Regions from separate parts of the Homo sapiens genome. Here regions 2 and 3 are each linked to region 1. Evidence: promoter capture Hi-C in human tissues and cell types (Jung and others, 2019). All regions are on one chromosome and are shown on one strand. Each heading gives the region's core, a stretch centred on a gene start or on the middle of the fragment in contact. The rest is flanking DNA. Distances are from core to core; before and after follow the strand shown. Region 1 holds the start of PHYHD1 (phytanoyl-CoA dioxygenase domain containing 1). Region 2 overlaps SPTAN1 (spectrin alpha, non-erythrocytic 1). Region 3 overlaps SPTAN1 (spectrin alpha, non-erythrocytic 1).

Evidence for each region. The method cuts DNA at HindIII sites, captures the fragments that hold promoters and counts their contacts. A contact is called where the count stands out against the background at its distance.
Region 2: a contact is called between a fragment that was not itself captured here and the fragment with the promoter of PHYHD1 in region 1, in 4 of the 25 tissues and cell types used here (adrenal gland, dorsolateral prefrontal cortex, spleen and 1 more).
Region 3: a fragment that was not itself captured here is called in contact with the fragment with the promoter of PHYHD1 in region 1 in 4 of the 25 tissues and cell types used here (hippocampus, lymphoblastoid cells, pancreas and 1 more).

Annotation. Positions count from the first base shown.
Region 1 is chr9:128,919,718-128,922,231 of GRCh38, reverse strand. It overlaps PHYHD1 (phytanoyl-CoA dioxygenase domain containing 1), which reads right to left and starts at 1,250. Exons shown (of 13, transcript NM_001100876.2): 1 at 564-1,250; 2 at 185-302. The HindIII fragment of the contact is 13,888 bases long and covers 1-2,514 here.
Region 2 is chr9:128,575,125-128,577,638 of GRCh38, reverse strand. SPTAN1 (spectrin alpha, non-erythrocytic 1) reads right to left here. Exons shown (of 57, transcript NM_001130438.3): 5 at 2,294-2,440; 6 at 683-816; 7 at 366-510; 8 at 133-287. Among named protein-coding and RNA genes, the nearest start is that of SPTAN1, 24 kb to the right of the region's middle. The HindIII fragment of the contact is 4,698 bases long and covers 1-2,514 here.
Region 3 is chr9:128,607,410-128,609,923 of GRCh38, reverse strand. SPTAN1 (spectrin alpha, non-erythrocytic 1) reads right to left here. Exons shown (of 57, transcript NM_001130438.3): 32 at 2,221-2,320; 33 at 1,875-2,072; 34 at 1,648-1,794; 35 at 947-1,050; 36 at 640-802; 37 at 259-273. Among named protein-coding and RNA genes, the nearest start is that of DYNC2I2, 48 kb to the left of the region's middle. The HindIII fragment of the contact is 5,536 bases long and covers 1-2,514 here.

The DNA of each region.
Region 1 (2,514 bases), core at 1-2,500:
CCCGGAGAAAACCCGGTCCCACCACCCAACCCTCCTTCCCTAGACACAGCCAGATCAGCCTGTGACCTCCAGGCTAATCTCCCCCACCCCCACAACTAATCCAGGATTTGCCCTTTCCCATCTCCAAGGATTTTATCTGCTTCCTCTGTGTTTCTTCTGGAAACCACCCCCCACCACTGCTTACCAGGTGCCGGGAAATTATGCTGTGAGAGGGTCAGGCCAAGCAGCTGGGCTGAGTCCCAGTCCAGGCGCCGCCATTCCCTGTGACTCTGAGGAACGCCTGCCTCTCTCTAGGCCTCAATCTGGATAGAATGGGATGCAGGGTTGGTCTGGGGGATGTGCGGCACCCCCCTTCTCCAGGTAATGGGCATTCCAAAGGTGGAAGAGGTCCTGGGGAGAACTATCTGGGCCCCTCCCAGCACCGATCTGAAACCCTCTCGGTCCTGGGAGGATTATGGAAGGGAATTAACGCATCCATCTGCAGCTCAGACGAAAGTAGGAGACATGGGGTATCTTAGTAGGAGGAAGGGGCTGAGGAGAGAGAGATGCTTCCTGTTACCCACCCTCAGGCCCAAGATACTTGGCATCTCAAGTCGGGCTGGCACAGTGGAGCTGGGGTCAGAACAACACCTGCAGGCCGGGTGCGGCGGCTCGGGCCTGTAATCCCAGCACTTTGGAGGCAGAGGCGCGCGGATCACGAGGTCAGGAAATCGAGACCATCCTGGCTAACACGGTGAAACCCCGTCTCTACTAAAAATACAAAAAATTAGCCGGGCGTGGTGGCGGGCACCTGTAGTCCCAGCTGCTCGCGAGGCTGAGGCAGGAGAATGGCGTGAACGCGGGAGGCGGAGCTTGCAGTGAGCCGAGATTGGGCCACTGCACTAGAGCCTGGGCGACAGAGCGAGACTCGGTCTCAAAATAAATAAATAAATAATAAATAAAAATACCAAAAACTAGCCGAGCATGGTGGCAGGTGCCTGTAGTCCCAGTTACTCGGGAGGCTGAGGCAGGAGAATCGCTTGAACCCAGGAGGCGGAGGTTGCAGTGAGCCGAGATCATGCCACGGCACTCACTCCAGCCTGGACGACAGAGTAAGACTCCATCTCAAAAAACAAAAACAAAAACAAAAAGAGAGAATAACACTTGCACACCACCACCCTTCTCAGCTTGCCCTGCTCAGCAGCTGGCAGGGCCACTCGCTGGCTCTGAAAAACCGGCTGCTGCCTTCCCCAAAATGATGCCTTCTGAATGGCGAAGGGACAAAGTGTTTCAGGAGTGTGCATGGGGACACTGCTCAGCCCTCAAGAGCCTTGGCCTCGAGTCAAGTCGTGTTTGCTGGGCCACCGCTCTGGGAGCTGCTGCTTGGTCCAGGCCGTCCGGGGGGCAGGGGGGAGCAGTAAGTGCAGCTCAGGCTCCTGGTTCAGAGGGGTTAGGCTGGGTGAGGGGCAGGCAGATGACAGAACCACGAGGTTCACTAGAGGCAGGATGTGTTCCCAGCTGTCCTTAACCCTTCTGATGCAACTGCCCAACAAAGACAGATGCCTACCATGTGCCAAGAACACTGAGGTCCCCTCGGACTGGGCCAGCCATTCCCCTGGGAGCCCCCACAGAAGGCTTGTAGTAGAGACTCAGTGAAGCAGACTGTGTTTGCGTCCCAGATGTTCAGGCCTTACTTTCCCAGTCTGTAATTTGGGGCTAGCAGTAGGATCCCCTGTGAGCAGTAAATAAGATGAATGCTTCGCAGCTGATAAAGAGCTTGGCACCAGGCCTGGCGCTGAGTAAGTGCCTACCAACTGGTGAACAAGTTGTTCACCAAATGTTAGCAGGGGCTGTTCTGAGTGGAATATTATTTATTTATTTATTTTTTATTTTATTTATTTTTTTTGAGATGGAGTCTCGCTCTGTCACCCAGGCTGGAGTGCAGTGGCGCAATCTCAGCTCACTGCAAGCTCCGCCTCCCGGGTTCACGCCATTCTCCTGCCTCAGCCTCCCCAGTAGCTGGGCCTACAGGCGCCTGCCACCACGCCTGGCTAATTTTTTATATTTTTTAGTAGAGATGGGGTTTCACCGCGTTAGCCAGGATGGTCTCAATCTCCTGACCTTGTGATCTGCCTGCCTCGGCCTCCCAAAGTGCTGGGATTACAGGCGTGAGCCACCGCGCCCAGCTGGGTGGAATATAATTTAAACAATTTTTTTGAGCTTCCAAAATTGCTGTTACAATCAGAGAGAAGACCACCACAGTGGTTTTAGGCAGAGTGGAGAGCCCTGGGTGGGTGGGGGAGGGGGAGGGGAGAGGCCCAGCCTCCCACTAACTGTTCATTCTGCTCAACTTTGGGAAGTGGGTGGGCGGTGTTTCTACATGGTGGTTTTTTCCAAATGTAAACCAGCTCCAGATCGAACTCTCCTGCTCCAGGCGCTGGACAGCCTCAAGGCCAGGGTGGGGGCGGGAGTGGGGTCGGGGGGTGGTGGGAAGGGTACCAAACTGGGGGAGGGACCTCCACCACGGAAACAGAA
Region 2 (2,514 bases), core at 9-2,508, 340 kb after region 1:
AAGAAGTGATTTGCATTTGTAGGTGATACCTGACACTTTCACAGAACACAGAACAGACCCTTAACTCTGCTATTCCTGCTTCCAAAAAAGAAGCCAAATGATACTGGTTAAGACCTGGAGCATTATTTGCACCTGTATGAATCATTGAGCCGTGCATGTCTCTCTGCCGCCAAGGTGCGGATCTGCTCCCAGTTTGTAATCAGTTCCTCTCGCTTCACTTGAATCTGTGTTGCACTCAGAGGGTGGGACTGTTGCAGGCGGTCAGCCTCAGCACACAGGGCTTTGACCTAGAAATGAACTCCGTCAGAACTATTCTCCTGACCCTTGGTAACTTATTTACAGAATCAGCTGCTTGTAAAACCCACCTTGTCTTCTAGAGCAGCAAGATCTCTCTCCAGACCCTCGTGCTTCCGAAGCAGAGCCTGAACACTTGCCAGGTCTCGGCCAAAATCATCAGAGGCCATTAACTGCTCCTTTTCCTTAATCCAACTGATAGTCTCATCCACATCCCTACAGAACAAAGGCACCAGTTAATCCACAGCAATGATGACTCCCTAGAACTAGGAACACCCCATGGGACCAAGGCCTAGTCAGCCTCGACAGCTCACCAGCACATGCCCTGTGCTTCACAACTCCCCTCCAGGTTGAGACCCATTCCCCAAAGCCCACTCTGGCTTGACACCTGTTAAAGCGCTGAACTTCTGCTGCCCCAAAGAGCTTCCCCTGCCTCTGCAGAGCCAGGCCCTTCAGCCGCTGCCAGGCTGCATTGACTTCATCCTGCTTAGTCTTGATCAGTTCCTCCTCAGGGTGCTGCTCCTAAACAAGGAAGAGAAGAGACTGGATTTGTACACAACTTCTGGCTCCTCCAACTAGTTACCCTGGGGTTGGTTCCTTGAAGCATCTCAGCAAATCACCACTCTGAAGAGAATCACAAGAAATAATGGTCAACATGATACAAAGTGAACTACAACTCCAAAGAGTTTCTATTTCTTATGTAAAAAGGGGAGAGCCATTCTCTATCTTTTGGAGTAGTGTGGTTAGTCTATAAGGTGGTTATGTGCAAAAGTGCCAAAAACCTTTATGTTAATAAATAGTTTGGCAACAACTGTGTGGTAACTTTATCAATGTACTCATCTACCCTAACTGCTTGAAAATTTGGTATTTCAGATGTTCATGAGGCTGTTAAGCATTCTTGCACATAAACATAATTTTCGGGGCTCAAGAGTTTGTCCCTGGCTTTAGACTGACGACATTTCTTTTTTTCTTTTTTGAGACAGGGTCTTGCTATGTTACCCAGGCTGGTCTCAAGTGATCCTGTCTTGTCAGCCTGAGTCTGAGTAGAGTAGCTGGGTCTATAGGCAGGTGCCACTGCATCAAGCTTAGAGACATTTCTTTAAAAGTATCCTTCCCTACCAACCACATTTTGGTGTTTTAAAAAATATGATACAAAGTAATAAAATGAAGCATTTCAGGGTTCTTGAATCCATCTGGGATACCATGGGTTTGGCCTGACTACTTTTCTCAAGCTCAACCGCAGGAAAGCTTAGGGTTTGGAAAAGCAACACATCTGTCACTGTGGAAGGGTGAGATATTTCTGAGGAATGCCGGGTATCTTTCTCTTAATCACTGGCCAGAAAATGGAAACAAGTACCAGCCTATAAGCAGATTTATACACTTAAAATTTGTACCCCCCAAATCAAATTTCCCTAAAAGTAAAAACTCTCTGGTTCCGAGTACTTGATGTCTTTGGAACCCTTTGGACTCGTAGTGGAAGCAGCTTACAGGATTGTACACGTGGGCACTGGGGAAGGGTTGTCATTCCCTCTTAATGGGCTCCAGCGCCAGAGTGGAGAGCCTATTCACGACAAGGTTCTCCCAGGCTCCCAAGAGAGCCCAGGGAAGCTTCAAATAAAAAAGGAAGGCAAGAGCCCTAATGCATTGGTGGACATCTGCCAATACTAACTTAGCATTCACCACCACACCCTCGTCTGAGAAACCCTGAGACCTAGCTTCAGCAGTCCAATAAAAGCTTCACCCAGCCCTACCCAAAAGTGGGTAGAGGAAACAGATCAAATGAACTCTGCCCTTCCTGCCCAAGGCAACACATTGAAAAGCATTTTCCAATTTAGGAGTAATCAGTATTGTGCCTCACATCTAAACAAAACTCTCAGACATGCTTACAAAAACTTGCTCACTCAGAAATTAGGGGACCAATCATCAAAATTTTATCCTGAATATACTAAAAAGTTAACATAATAATGTTGTGAGAAGCATACAGCACTTTGCTATTTACCTGTATGAGTTTGGCAGCAAACTGGTTCACTTCATTAACTCTTTCTTCATGAGCAGCCATATCTGTTTGAAACTCTTCAAATTTCTTCTGTAAAACCTCTACATGCTCCAGATCCTGGCCCAGCTCTTCAGAAGTAACAATTGCTTCCTATTCAGGGACCATAAGAGAGCCAGAGTCACCAACCAACATTTGTTAACAATGGCTTCCAGAAACATCAAACA
Region 3 (2,514 bases), core at 8-2,507, 310 kb after region 1:
CAAACACTGTACAGAATTTGCCTAAGTGATAAACTGGGGGAGAGAAGGGGGAGTAAGGCGTTGCAGGCTAATTACAACAGAAAAAGCCACATCCCACAGGGACACTTGAATGGAGTGTAATGGATGATTAGAAATGAAAAGGATGGATGAAGAGACACCAGCAAACCGTGTGACCACAATAATAACAATAATCTACGCAGAGTAACACAAATACTGGAGCTCATTTAACTACAACTCTTAAAAAAATTAAAAACTTACCAGCAGCTTGGAAAGCTACAAAAACAGATTAAAAGAACAAGAGTTCAGTACACTGATGTGGACACACATATCAGCTATTAAATAGAAACTCATTTTGTCATACTTCCCCCAGGAAGCTCAGCATTTGGGAACAGTAATAGAAGGGGGATTCTATAGACTTTTATTACAGCAGAAATAGTTTTAATGGAGACAAATGAGGAAGGCAACTTTTAAATGGCTCTGAAACTTGACTAGGGCTTTCCCACTGGCTGGGCTTACTGAAATATTTCTCACTGACTTCCCATGGGTGCAAGGAGATTGTTTTATAAATGCTTTATTTAACAAAATCTACTCAATAACATAAGGCTACATCAAGACCAACACCCAGTCACTTCAGCTTACCTGGATGTTGGTGGGATCCTTGTACGACTCATCACTCGCTGTTTGCAATTTTTCACTGATCCAAGCCTCAATCTCATCCACATCCCGGCTGAACTGTTGGAGGGTTTGAGATTCTCCTAGCTTTGACCTTTTCTCAATCATCTGGGCTTTCAGACGTCGCCACCTGAAAGAGTGAAACCATGAGATCCAACATGAGCATATCTTACCGTGGAGAAGGAAGTGGGGAGACAGAACAGGCCTGGGCCTTCGTATGAGGGGATGCATCCTCTCAGGGCTGGTGACTATGTCAGTGCCACAGGACACCCACCTGTCCAAGACCTCATTGCGCCGGCTAGAAATGTCTCCCTTGGCATAATGGCCGGCAGCGATGAGCTGGTCGGCAAAGGCCTGCAGAGCAGCAATCTTCTCTTCCTGTCAGAAAACAAAGGCATGAGATCAAGGTGGGCCTGTGGCTGGGCCCTGCCTGGACTGCCAGTCTTGAGAAAAGGATAGTTATTTTGGGTGACTGAGAACTAGCTGGTGGCAGGATCAGAATACACTGACACTTTAGAAGCAAGAGTGTAAAATGCCAAAAGAAAGCTTGATTTCATTCATTACTAGAGTAGAGTTTAACTCAAGAAGTCTCCAGGTCACTCAGGTGGGGCAGGTGTTAGAATATCAGAACAGAACAAAATTAAGCCTGATAATAGGAAAATGCTGTCAGATTTACAGCAAAGTGACGTATAAATCAAACAGTTTTACATCTTCCTTGTTGTTTGTTCATTATTCCCTTACCTACCCACACATTTGTTTTCCATCCCTTTGATAATATTTTTTTTTCCTGTGGCACCCCCATTATTAAAATCTCAGAAATACCAGAATCTATAAAGTTTTAAAGATTATTTATGTACATATTTTTCTTAGACAACGCAGGTATTCCTTGGAGATATAACAGTGACTATATAAGCCAAGAAACAGATGTCAATCAGGAAAAATCCAGACTCCAACTCCATGGTCCAGAGGCCTCACCTGGACGTTAATCGCTTTGTCAAAGTCTTCATGTTTTTTGATCAGAGCCTCTACGCTGTCCAGTGAGTCTCCTTTGTCTTCGGTATTCAAGAAGGCCTCCCGGGCAGCCATCCAGTTCTCAGCTTGCTCACAGTCCCGATGGAACAGCTAAAGAGGGCAAGAGGCAGGTGAGAAAATGAGGCCCTTCAGCAAGGAAACACTTGGTCAGAAACCAGGAGCACACACACCTGCAGTTCAAGGCACTGATCCAGCATCATCCTGCGCTGAACCCAGGCCTTCTCCAGGTCTGCACGCTCCTGGTCAAGAATATCAAGTTTCTGCTTGATCTCAGGGCTGGCATAGTGTCCGTGAGCCAACAGCTGCTGTCCAAACTGCTCAAATGCCTGGAAAGTGCCAGCCCTGGCATCGATTTCTGTCCGGTGTTCCTGCCAAAAGGAGGGAAGGGATTAGGTAACTGGCAGCAGATGCCCACTCTGACGTCAACCACCGACTCACCACAAAGGGTGGGAATGAGGCCTCTAGGGCCCTGCAGAGCAGCCACGTCTTTGCTACTCAGCAGGCAGGTCCACCCACCTGGTGTCGCTCCAGCAATGCCTCAGCTCCGGTGACATCCTTGGCTAGCTCATCTGAGGACACCAACCCCCGTATTCCATTGATCCAAGACATGAGGTCCCTGGAAACCAGCACCCCAGAAAAATAGCTATTATATTACCTGGTAAGGAGATCTTCTGCCCAGGAAAACAGAGAATGACATAATTCTTGCCTCAGAAAGTTATCTTGGGTTAATCTGATCTACTGAATGAGGCTAGGTCTTTGGGCAAAGTGTTAAAAAACTTCTTGTTATTTTTTTAAAAGTCCGAATTTCTC